Linked DNA regions of Homo sapiens: region 1 is linked to region 2. Evidence: promoter capture Hi-C in 16 types of primary human blood cells and fetal thymus (Javierre and others, 2016). All regions are on one chromosome and are shown on one strand. The core of a region is centred on a gene start or on the middle of the fragment in contact, and the rest is flanking DNA. Distances in the headings are between cores, read along the strand shown.

What was found. The method cuts DNA at HindIII sites, captures the fragments that hold promoters and counts their contacts. A CHiCAGO score of 5 or more calls a contact.
Region 1: a fragment that was not itself captured here is called in contact with the fragment with the promoter of BICDL1 in region 2 in 7 of 17 cell types (activated CD4 T cells, naive CD4 T cells, non-activated CD4 T cells and 4 more); the score reaches 11.2 in activated CD4 T cells.

Annotation. Positions count from the first base shown.
Region 1 is chr12:120,086,343-120,092,848 of GRCh38, reverse strand. It overlaps BICDL1 (BICD family like cargo adaptor 1), which reads right to left. Exons shown (of 10, transcript NM_001367886.1): 9 at 2,778-2,898. Among named protein-coding and RNA genes, the nearest start is that of RAB35, 27 kb to the left of the region's middle. RefSeq lists enhancers at 1-52, 1,478-2,070, 5,445-5,524. The HindIII fragment of the contact is 1,926 bases long and covers 862-2,787 here.
Region 2 is chr12:119,986,806-119,993,209 of GRCh38, reverse strand. BICDL1 (BICD family like cargo adaptor 1) reads right to left here and starts at 3,974. Exons shown (of 10, transcript NM_001367886.1): 1 at 2,913-3,974. The coding sequence starts at 3,341. RefSeq lists silencers at 2,997-3,206, 3,217-3,286, 3,337-3,426, 3,707-4,346, 4,367-4,426 and 1 more and enhancers at 2,358-3,329, 3,330-4,303. The HindIII fragment of the contact is 12,107 bases long and covers 1-5,878 here.

The DNA.
Region 1 (6,506 bases), core at 575-3,074, 100 kb before region 2:
TGAGCGTGGGCAAGACACCAGGCGCACGCAGGAGCCGTATGGCACCTCCAGCCTCCTCAGGCTTGGGCTGGGTTCTCCTCAACAGTGTTACTCCTGCTGGGCCGCCACAGTCCTCAGCTGATGGCTCGGGTGGTCTCTCCCTGCAGTCTCCACACTAGCACTCCACCTGCTCTGACCAGGCCTCACGGCTCTGCCTCCTGTGTCCTGTGGGCCTGGCTGGTGCCTCCGGTTTGGCTTGCCACCCCCAGCCCCGGCAGGCCCTAGGGCCACCTCAGCTTAACAGCTCCCCAGCCCAATGGCCTGGCCTCAGGGGCTCCTCCTGCCTTTTCCTTTCCAATTATTCCAGCCTGAGCTACTGATGCCCAGGCACCAACGGCAGCCTCACGTGGCAAGGATGCCCTGGGTGCTGCCCTAGACCCTGCTGCTGAGGCTCCCATCTGCGGCAGAGGCCAGGGGCCTCACGGTCTTCAGGGGCTGTCCTGCACCAAATCAGGCCCATTTCTTTCAGCTTCCTCACTGGGGTAGGACCGTCCCCCAACTCGAATTCGTTCATGTGGTCCAGAAAATGCCTTCCTCCCCACAGCCCGCCCCACCATGTTTTACAGAACAGCAGCCTTTCCCATAGAGAAGCCTGTGGACAGGGCAGCTCCACTCCCTTCCCATTTTGGTGGCTAGATTCTGACTCTGGGTAAGACTCCATTTGACAAAAGTTCTGCCACTAACAAAGTTTGAAAACTCCTGCTTTAGAAATATGAGCAGCCTGTGTAATTAGCATCATCAGTAAATGTAACATGTGTCTGCTCGATTCCTTCATGACTTGAACCTGGCAGGCTCTGCGGCATCCTGGTAAGACCCCAAGCTTTTCTGGCTAAACCCCTGAGTGAGTCAGCCTGTGGTGTCCGAGCACAGGACAGGTGAGGCCTGTGTTCAGGGCAGGCTCCCTGTGGCCAGGGCAGATGACCTCTTTGGTTCCGAGCAGCCACTGACGAGATGAGGGCATGAAGTTGGGCTGGCTGGGCCCCTCCATCTGAGCAGCTTGTCCACTCCTCCTCCCTCCCACCCATGGGTGTCATTCTAATATCTCTGCAGGTTTCAGCATGAAACAAAGGGGCCTTCCTGAGTCATCGTGGGGTAGCAGTGAGTGTGGACCCCTCACGCGCTCTGGCTCAGGGCCTGCTCTCCAGCCTCCCTATTCTCTCAACCCTGTCTTTCAGACTCAGCTCATTCCTGGTCTTCTCCTTGCCCTTGTCTTCTTCCCTTCTCTTCCATCCCCTTTTCCACTTGCCCCTCAGAGCTGGCACTGTGCCAGGTATTTGCCAACACACGGTCCCTCCTTATAAGGGTCTAGTATATGATCCTTGGCACAGTGCCCTGCACTTACGACGTGCTCAGTAAAATCTACGCTAAATCCAATGTAGGAATGCTAAAGGGTCTTTCAAAAACCAACCTTTCAAAGCTGCCAATGTTTTGTTTGGCACACTGAAAACTTCATTTTTTTAACTTTAAGCAATCAGGTCTGTCCAGGTCGCCCTTTAGAGTTTCCCAGACACACGCTGCTCATCATTCCAGGCCTGCTGGTCCCTCAGTGGATGGAACAGCCATCTATGAGAAGACGGCACCAGCCGTTAGCACTGGGCCACACACTGCTGAAGAGCTCACTGGACGCGACTGTGATGGAGGAGGGAGCTGGGACTTGAGGGCATGTCACACTGCACAGAGATGACGCCAGGCTCCAGCACACAGAACACAGTGGGCCATGAGGGGAGGCGGCGGGGCAGCACAGCAATGGCAGGGCGAGACGGTGGATGGGATGTAGGGCTCAGGCTCACCTCAAAGGCAGGAGGGGTGTACAACTAAAGCTGTTGATACGGGAACTGAGAAAGGCCACTAGATCAGAAACCAAAGGAGCCAGATAGTAAAAAGCCCTGAGGAAGCAAACTGTAGCCGGGAGAGAAGAGAGAGAGCAGCGGTCAGCCAGGGCGCGGCCAGCTGGCTGCCATGCAGGAGCCAAGGAGCCAGGGACGGGCACCCTGCGGTGGGGCCAGTGTTCTGGCTGCCAGCCCCATGGGGCCCTGGGAGGAATGGTCACCAACAACCTGCCCTCCACGGGGGGCTTACCTTGTAAAGCCACAGACGGCTTTTCATCTGTCTGGATGAGAATTCTTGGGGAGAAATATTAATGTTTATACCCATATCCTAAAACTGTGCTACCTCAACCTCACGAACAAAACCCAGCCAGCCACAGCCCAGTCCAGTGGGGGAGCCATGCTGGACCCTGAAAACAGTGGGTCTAGAGAGGGACCCACTGACTCCTCTTCCCCAGGGCCTGTGCCAGCACAGTGCTCTTTGGAAAATGGAGGCTGGCCCTTGAGAAGGGGAAGGGTAGCAGCTGCTGGCTGCAGGAGGGTTGCTGAGCCGCATCCCGCTGTGAATTTTCATGCAATTATACTGAGCTTCCTGGGCCTCCATGTTAACCAGTTGTTTCTTTCCAGCTTAAAGCCCAGACAACCAGCTGAAAGGGGGCCCCATTCCAAGTCTGGAGATCACTACATCTCCAGACAGCAGCAGCCTGGGCACTGTCGCTCAAAAGCATCCTTAAGCATTCTTCCCCAAGGACTAGGGGACATGAGCTCTGGATCTTGCCAGGTGAAGACTGGGATGTGCTGTTCACCCAGTCACATGGAACCCTCCAGTGGCAAACTCTCCTTACACTCTGCCTGGGTTCAGAGATTCCTCCTGGAGTCTCCTCTCGCCCTGGATCTCAGGCTCCAGTTTACCTGCCAAGCTTCCAGCTGCTGCGAGAGGTTCAGTTTCTGCTGAATGGCATCCAGCAACTGGCTGTTCAGAGACATCATATCCATCCTGCACTTGGCAAGTTCCAGCTCCACAGCATTCTTCCTGAGAACAGACAAGCCAGGGTGAACATGGACACCTTGTGCCAGAGGCATCTTGGTCTTTACTTGGGGCACCTGGAGTCCCAGGATGAGGAAACAGGCTCTGACCCTGAACTCACAACAAATAGCAGCTGCAACAATAACTATGATGTTGCCTGCAGAGGGTTAGTTTGCAACATGTTTTCACATATATTCTCCCAGTTTTCATAACCAACCTGTAGGTGAAAGGAATATTTGTCATCCCCACCTCACGGATAAAGAAACAGAAGTTGAGGCCGGGTGTGGTGGCTCATGCCTGTAATCCCAGCACTTTGGGAGGCCGAGGCGGGTGGATCACCTGAGATCGAGGGTTCGAGACCAGCCTGACCAACATGGAGAAACCCTGTCTCTACTAAAAATACAAAATTAGCCAGGCGTGGTGGCACATGCCTGTAATCCCAGTTACTCGGGCTGAGGCAGGAGAATTGCTTGAACCCAGGAGAAGGAGGTTGCAGTGAGCCGAGATTGCACCATTGCACTCCATCCTGGGCAAAAAGAGCAGAACTCCGTCACACACACACACACCACACACACACACACGTTGAAAGAGCAGAACTCCGTCACACACACACGCCACACACACGTTGAAAGAGCAGAACTCCGTCACACCCCACACACACACACATACACACACACACACACACGTTGAAAAAGGACAATACTAAAATAAGGACTGGAACCCAGAGGGGATCAAAAGCCTCACACAGCATAAAGGAGCTACTCATCCTTTCCCAAAATGGCCCATTCCCCACTGGAAGGCAGGAACCTTGTCCTGCTGGTATAGAAGGGATTCCTTGTAGTTAGCAATCCCCCTTAGGGGAACTGTCCTGAAGATACAGAGGTGTGCGAAGATAGCCACACAGTGGTGATCACTATAGCTTAGCTAGTCAGAGTAGCCAAGTGGTCATGAATGATGGGATGGAATACAGTCACCAGTAAAAACCATAAAGTAGGCCGGGTGCGGTGGCTCACCCCTGTAATTCCAGCACTTTGGGAGGCCAAGGCGGGCGGATCACGAGGTCAGGAGATTGAGACCATCCTGGCTAACAGTGAAACCCCGTCTCTACTAAAAATACCAAAAATTAGCCAGGCATGGCGGCAGGTGCCTGTAGTCCCAGCTACTGGCGAGGCTGAGGCAGGAGAATGGCGTGAACCCGGGAGGCGGAGCTTGCAGTAAGCCCAGATCGCGCCACTGCACTGCAGCCTGGGTGACAGAACAAGACTCCGTCTCAAAAAAACAAAAAAACCCCATAAAGTGTGGCCAGGCGCGGTGGCTCGTGCCTGTAATCCCAGCACTTTGGGAGGCCAAGGTGGAAGGATCACCTGAGGTCAGGAGTTCGAGACCAGCCTGGCCAACATGGCGAAAACCCATCTCTGCTAAAAATACAAAAATTAGCTGGGTGTGGTGGCAGGTGCCTGTAATCCCAGCTACTCGGGAGGCTGAGGCAGGAGAATCGCTTGAACCTGGGAGGTGGAGCTTGCAGTGAGCCCAGATTGTGCCACTGCACTCCAGCCTGGGCAATAGAGCAAGACTCCGTCTCAAAAAAATAAAAACAAAACCCCACAAAAAACCATGAGGTAGAATATTTATTGACAGTTCATAACATATTGCTGAGTGGAAAAAGCACCAGAAAACAAGGTCTAGTATAATACTAGTTTTGTAAAACAAAAACTGCCTGTGTCCGCAGGGTGCTGTGGCTCACGCCTCTAATCCCCAGCACTTTGGGAGGCCAAGGTGGGCGGATCACCTGAGGTTGGGAGTTCGAGACCAGCCTGACCAACAAGGAGAAACCCCGCCTCTACTAAAAATACAAAAATTTGCCGGGCGTGGTGGCGCATGCTGCCTGTAATCCCAGCTACTCAGGAGGCTGAGGTAGGAGATCACTTGAATCCAGGAGGCGGAGGTTACAGTGAGCCAAGATCACGCCACTGCACTCCAGCCTGGGCAACAAGAGCGAAACTCTGTCTCAAAACAAAACAAAAAACTGCCTGTGTGTTCAAGGATATGCACAAAAATGTCTAGTTGGTTATCTCTGGGTGATGATTACTGATGGGTAACTCCTCCGACATTATTTTGCATTTTTTTATTTTCACATTTGTGTTTCACGTATTACTTTGTTCACCTTTCCCAACATTCCTAAATCACGGCTGTTCAATGCAAAAGAAAATTAATTTTTTTCGAGGGCAGGGGAACGGGAATAAAGGTGGAAGGACCTCTGCAGAGGCAGCCCTGGTTGCCCAACTGCAGAAACGTGTATTATTTAGCCCTTGCCTTCATTAATCGCTCCCTTAAGCACTCAAAACAGCAAAGCTAACAAAAGCATGCTCCTTGTACAGGGCCAGCGACTAATGTGCAGGGCTCAAGGGCAGCTAGAGGATCCGCCTGCAGAGGCCGCCTAGCTCGAGCTTCACAACACCGACCGCACTAACCGAAGTGCGGCCAGAAAAAGGAACAGGTGGATCCCACTTGCAAAGTGCTCAGGCCACTGCTGCGACCAGCACTTCTTCTTTGGCTTCAGGTCTACCGAGCAATTAGTCACCTGTGCCGACACCGCAAGTGCGCCCCGCCCGCCGGCCCGCCTGCCTTCCCTAGAGAAACCGCTCCAGACAGCTCAGCCACCGCGTCAGCCCCGCCCACTGCGGCAGCGACGGGACCCGAGCCCGTCTAATGGATGCTGAGGGCTCAGATGCCGAAGGCTGCCTCCGTCACACCCACTGCTATTGGCTGGCAGCAAACAGCGGAAATCCTCACGCGGCATCGGTTGCCATGGACACCCCTCCAGTAGCGTCAGAACCCGTGGTGCCCCACGACAGCCACAGCCTCCTGAGCTTCCGGCGTCCCCCGGCAGGTGGCGCCGAGAGCAGCGGGAGCCCCAGGAATGTGCTGACTAACGTTGCCGGCGAGGGACAGATGGGCCCAGGGCTACAGCCGCGGCGCAGCGCCGGGCATGGTGGGGTTCCCTTCCTTGCCAAAAAACGCCCTGAGGCAGGGGCTGCCTGGACGACCTCCAATCCTGGCCACGCGCTGCACCGTTGGGACATTTGCTCACCAAGGAATAAGTGCTCGTCATTCATGGGAAACCCCAGACCAGGATCAACACATTAATCACATTTTAAAAATAGGAATATTCCAAGGGCTCGAATAATTCCTTTTTACAAATGAAACCACTAGTAACTGACTTGTTTTTGTAAGGCAGATTGCTAGCCCAAGATTTATTTTTGGTTTTAGTGAAGGCCCTTCACCTGCAAGGAGATAAAAAAATTGCTACTTAATTTTCCTGAAACTCATTTATTGTATAGGAGAAGGTGCACCTTAAGGTTTCTGCAGCCCAGTGACGAGAAGGAAGTTATATTTCTTAGGGATTCTCACCCCTGACTACACATTAAAATCAAGGGGGAAAGAAGTGGGCCCCACCCAACTGACCCCACCCCGTGATTTCAACTGTATTGTTCTGGTGAGGTTCCTGGTGTCTGAGCGCTCCCCAGATGATTGTAATGTGCGGCCAGGATGGAGAATCAGAGATAACGTATATGGAAGAAGTATCTGGTAAAACTAAGTTACTATACAAATGG
Region 2 (6,404 bases), core at 2,725-5,224:
AGGCGGATCACGAGGTCAGGAGCTCGAGAACATCTTGGCTAACATGGTGAAACCCCGTCTCTACTAAAAATACAAAAAAAAAAAAAAAATTAGCCAGGCGTGGTGGCGGGCGCCTGTAGTCCCAGCTGCTCAGGAGGCTGAGGCAGGAGAATGTCATGAACCTGGGAGGTGGAGCTTGCAGTGAGCTGAGATTGCGCCACTGCACTCCAGACTGGGCGACAGAGCGAGACTCCATCTGGGGGGCAGGGTGGGGGGGTGGAAGAAAGGTGCCAATTTTGAAGTAGTAGAGAAGATGGGATTAAAATAAAACCAGTCTCATTATTCAATAGTGAAAGTGGCATTCCCTCAGTCCACTCACATGTTTCTCTTTCAAACCACCCTGTAAGAAAATGTGTTTGACTCCAAATGTCCGACAGTTTGTGGAAGATTATAAATTTTTTTTTTCTGGTCAAGTTCTCTCATGAATAAATGCGTCTTAAAGTACTGGTTTTATACTCCCAAGTGTTTGATTTAATTGAAAATACAGGCCAGGCTCAATGGTTCACTCCTGTAATCCCACCACTTTGGAAGGCCAGGGCAGGAGGACTGCTTGAGCCCCGTAGTTTGAGACCAGCCTTGGCAACATAGTGAGACCCCATCTCTACGAAACATTTTTACAAAATTAGCCAGGTGTGTAGTAGGCGCCTGTAGTCCCAGCTACTCAGGAGGCTGAGTGGGAGGGTCACTTGAGGGTGCAGTAAGCCATGATCAGCCACTCCACTGCAGCCTGGGGGATAGAGTGAGATCTTGTCTAAAAAAGAAAAAAGTACAAAGTACAGCAGTTTGTACTGAACGTTAGAAAGTATTGTCTAAACAGACATTCTAAAACCTACATTGTTCAAACAATGTACTGTGGGGAAAACTAAACCGGAGGTGTCAAATAAAACAGTACTCTGTAAACCAGGTTTGTCACTCTCACATTAACACTAGAAAGATTAACAAGCAACTAATGGTACTCTCTTAGTATCTTTAATGAACATTTTTAAAACTTTAAAATTTTTTATAATTTTCAAACCTACCTATAAGAAATAATATAACTGACTCCCCTCATCACTGAGTTTCAACAATGATCAATATTTGGCCTGTAAGTATATGTTAAGTATATGTTAGTTATATTCACATTGTTGTGCGACTATCTCCAGAACTTAAAATTGAACTTTTAAAACTAGAGTTCATATGCTGACCTGCAGAGGAATGAAGGTTTTAAAAAATAGTTTAAAGAGTTTTAAACTATTGTTGTCCATTAAGTAAATAACAAAATGTCAAAGATAATTTATTCTTTTACAATACAACCTTTTTTTGTTACCATTCTGAAATCTTTGCCCTATGTTGAAGAAATGTATAAAGGCTCCACATGGAACCCAGAATGTATGTAATTGCACACTCAGGATTACTATGAAATCTGGCACTAATCAAACTGATACGGTGCTCCTTTCAAGTCAGCTGTCTCTTCAATCAAGTCCTTCACTGAAGAAATTTCAAATCACAAGTATAAATCTCTGTAGTTGTACTTCTTTACAAAGTCGTACAACTGAATCTCTTTATAAAAAAAAAAGGAAGGCTTTTTATTTCTAGACCTCTACTTCAAGTGAAAATTAAACAATTCAATTCATTAGGCTGCTTTTTGGCAGTCTACCTATAGGTTTCACAAACGACTTTTCAGAGAGGTATCTCAGGAGTTCATCGACTGGCAGACCTAGTTAGCAGGACAACCGAACTACAGGGCACTCACAGGTTTCCTTTTTTTCTCCCGGATTTACTTTTACGTCGCTGGACTATAGGCATACTTAAATCTTATTACAGAATATTTCTGAATTTCCATTCTGACTGTTCAACCAGTAGCAGAGATACGGAACCTGACTAGGGTCAATTTCAAACCTCATTCAGGTCTGTACTATTGTCTTGCTGTAACTAAGAATGAAAAGAGCTGGCTGCAACCAAACTAGGTAACAATAATAGTAAACGCACAGGCAGGAAAGGTAAGTCACAGGTGACTCCCTCTCCCCATCCCCCTGCCCCTTTTTTTTGCAATCTAATTTTTAGAAATGCTGGCATTCTGTACTGCATTCAAGGCCCTTTTCTAGTTAAGGGCAAGAAAACAAACAACTCTGAAAGACTGCCTAGAGAACTGGCAGAAATATTACGGATACCTTAACAGGTATTTTATAACAGAAGTTAAAGTAATATGGTTCTCATAGGTTGCATTTGGTCATTCAATTGCAAGCCTGAGACCCAGAACACAGAAAAGTACTGTTTAAATACACATAAATACTGAGGCCCAAATTAAATCCACTACCAGCGGTCACATGTTGAGCCCTGGCTCGCCTGATTTCTGCAATGGAACCACATTTCCTAATCCCTGAGCATTTGAAGGCTATATAAAGCTCCTTTAGGGGCACTTGTTTCCCACAACTCTGAGCTGCCAGGAAGTTAAGACAAGGGCATCTAAAGGCCTTAACGCCCAAACTGGAAGGCTTTAGGCTAACACCCTGATTAGAGATTAACTGCTCTGAAAACCTGCAACATATTTTAAATGCTTCCCGACTTCCTCATTTCTCTGTATGCAGACATCACCTCAGTGCTATATAGTCATACTGTAAGCTCTATTTTAGATGCTGGGTACAGTACGTATATAGAACGGCCCACAGCGGCTGGAGCCACGCATGGACCCATTTGCTGTGAGCGGGGTGGGGAAGTCAAGTGGGTTCAACGAAATCTGATAATCCTCCATCCTCCCTCCCCCATTCATTCCAGATTTTCTGCGAGGTAGGGTGAGCAACGAAGTGGGGGTGAGTGGTTCCCTAACTGCCCAGGGCCGGGCGCGTGCCTGGGCGGCCCCTGCTCCCCACCCATCCCTGGAGGGAGGTCCTCACCTCGAGCTTGTCTGTCAGCTCCTTATGCATCTGCTCGTACTGCCGGCTCATGTCCTGGTTCCTCTCGAGCAGCGCCTTACCCAGCCGGGCCGCCAACACCAGATCCTTCTCCTTCTGTCGGATCACCGACAGCAGCTCGGGGTCCTGGGAGGGCGGCGGCTGCGGTCCGGCCCCCTCGGCCAGAGACCCAGGCTCGGCCTGAGGGTGTTCCCCGGGGTCGGACGGCCGCTCCCCGGCCGCCAGCAGCGCCAGCTCCTCCTCTAACGCCAGTTCTAGCTCCCCGGAGCCCCCGGGGAAGATGAGGGCGGCGGCGGCGGCGGGACTCCGGACTGCGTCCCCGGCCGCGGCGGGCAGCTCCATGCAGCAGGCGCTGTCCGGCTCGGCGGGTGCTGAAGCGCGGCCGACCAAGCCCAGGCAGAAAGCGGACATGGCCCGCGCGCGCGGAGCCCGCAGCGGTGCGGCCCGGCCCGCGCGCGCCAGGCTGCAGGGGGGAGGGGCCCTGCCGCGCCGCCCCGCGTCCCGCGCCTCGCCTCGCGCCGCGGCACGCGCCCCCGGGTCCCCGCGAGCCCTGGGCGCGGCGCGCGCCGGCCCGCCCCTCCCCCGCGCCGGCGGCACGCGCCCCCTCCCCCGCCCCCGGGCTCAGCTGCTCAGGCGCGCGCGGGAGGAGGGGGTGGGGGTAGTGGCGGAGTAGGTGGTGGGAACGGGAAGGCTGGGGAAGGGAGGACTCAGGAACAGAGACTGAGGGTCGGCGAAGCGGGAGGGGAGGAAGCGAGGAGGAACGCCGCCGCCGGGTTCTCAGCCGCCCTGTTGCCGCTGCCGCTGCTGCTGCTGCTGCCGCCGCCGGCCGGGCAGCGCCTCACGGGGCGGGCTGCGCTCCGCTGTCGCCGCGACGCTTCCTGCTGCTGCTGCTGTTGCCGGCGGCCGCTCTCTGCAGCCGCACTCCATGACCCCCGGCTCCGCGGCAGCCCCAGCAGCAGCGGCGGCGACGGCGGCTGCTGCTGCTGCAGGGGCCGAGGCGGCGGCTCCACATCGCGCGCCGCGCAACCCGGCGAGCTCCTTCCTGCCTTCCCCGGCTCCTCCCGGCTCACCGGGCCGGCAGCGCCCCGCCCCGGGCTTCCGGCCGCGTCCCCTCGCCCCGCCCCTTGCCGGCGCCTGACGCGCGCGGGCACCTGTTCGCCCCGCCCGCGCGGGATTCGCCGGCTCGCGGGTCTCCTCAGCGACGCCCAGGTGGCGCCGGCGGCCTTAACCCCTGCTCTGCCTCACGCCCTGCGGGCGGCTGCGCGCGCCGCCTGCGGAGGCGGCTGGCGCATCCCTCACGGTCCTGGCTGCCTCACCGCGCGGCCACGCCCCCAGCCTTGCACCCACTTCGGGGTGCGGTTCCGCCCTCAGCCTCGCTCAGAGCTGGGGTGTGGCCACGCCCTCAGCTCTCGTACCTCGGGGTGTGGCCTCGCACCCGGCCTCGCTCTCACCTCGGACGGAGCGCGGCCCCGCCCACCGCCTGCTGCTCACCTCCAGGCGCGGCCCCGCCCCCAGCTACTTGGAAGCCGGGGCGCGCCTCAGAGTTCTGTTGCCGCATCTCTGGTGGTGTCTGGGGCAAAGGGGACTGAGGACATTCCTCCAAGACTGGTGACCCGGCCCCGAGAAAGACATACCCTCACGAAATTTAGGTCTGGGCCCCCAGGAGAACTAAGCAGTCAGGAGAGGGAGCCCTAGAGAGCAGTAGGAGGAGGGAGGACTTCGGAAACCAGGCATCTTCATGCTGATGACTCAGGGATATGAAGGACCAGATGCTTCGCAGATCAGCAGCCCGGAGAGAAAGGGTTTCTGCGGAGAAATAACGGAAAAAACTGCTCACAGATGGGAATACGAAGCAAAGAACCTCCCTAATAATAACTACCGTTTATTCGGCACTCAGTGTGTGCCATGTCCTGTATTAAGTGCTTGATAGTCATTATTTTAGATAATCCTCACAAGAACTTTATAAAATCAGTACTGCCGCTTGTCATTTTAACAGAGAAGGAAATTAAAGCCTGAGAGATGGCATCGTCTGCCCAGGTCATTACAACTGGTAGAGTCAGGATTGAGATCTAGCCAGGCCGACGCCAGGGATCACGTGAATCATTATTCTTTATTTTCTTCACATAGAAGCAGTCTTGAGGAAGATAAATGGTCCTTTGTGACCAAGATGGATTGGGTGGATATGGAAGGAACATTTCCTCAATGATTAAAGGAAGGTTTGGAGAGCCTACTGGGTGACTTGCAGTCATTCCTTGGTGTTGACCTCGTTGGTGGTGCTACGTGTCTCCTATTTCCAGAAACAATCCCATCTAAAGCTAGAATTCGTCCCTATGCTTCCTTTTCCTCTTGGACAGACAACCCATTTTTTACTTGGATCATGCCTTTCTTCTTTTCATCCCAGTGAGATGGAAATTTCAGAACATCAAGAGGCTGAAATGGGTCAAATAGTTTCTCATGGTTTTTATCGCTTATTAAATTCAGAGCCTAAACAATATTCAAGTTTTAACATCGTTACCCTTAGACTGAAGGCCAGAATCTGAAAAGCTCCTGGGCCTCAGGGCTGGCATTGTTCACTTGTTGACTGGAAAGGAGACAGACAGTTGAGGGATTCCCACATCAATCTTAGAGCTAAATTTCTGCAGTTGACCATGTTACCATTCCAGCAAGGAAATGTTCTAACACTTTTTATTATGACCTCCCACCTTGAGCTGGAATTGTGGGCCAGAGGTGAGATCCAATTGCCACTTCCTTTTGTCTTATTTGAATCACAGAAGGACAAATTTCTCCCTAATATGTCTGGAGACACATCAAGAACAAACAGGGCCAGGCTCTGTGGCTCCTGCCTATAATCTCAGCACTTCGGGAGGCTGAGGCAGGAGGATTGCTTGAGCCCAGGAGTTCAAGACCAGCTTGGACAATGTAGAAAGTAAAGTTTCCTCTTCAAAGCTTCCCTTCTTGTTAAAGAATGAATAATAAGTGTTAGAAATAATGGTTTCTTTTAAAGACTAACTTCCTTCAAGCCACCTTATTTTATGCTAATAACTCTCTGTTAAGCCCTTTCCTATGTAGCTGTTAGATCTAAGGGAATGAGTACATTCTATGTCCATGTACTTTAACCAAGATACCTGTGCTGGACATGCTCACTGGCATGTCCCAGCTTGCAGCCTATGCCCCTTCCCTATTTGGGAATGTTACTACTTTTCTAAGTCTTTTCATAAATAACTTCCTCTTTTCCTTTGTTCTCCATTGCTTTTACCTATTTAGAAAAGTTTTAAGTTGTTAGCCTATCAGGTTCAGTTTAAATTGTAAGGTCTGGCTCCAGCCAATGGAGACAAGGCACAGTAGCAGGGACAAACTGCGTAAGGGATAAAAATTGCTTCTTTCCTTTATTCAGGTGTGCTCTTGCCATTGTTCCAGCTGCAAGGAGCACCCTTTCTGCAGAAACTAAAATTGCATTGCTGAGAAAACTTTCTC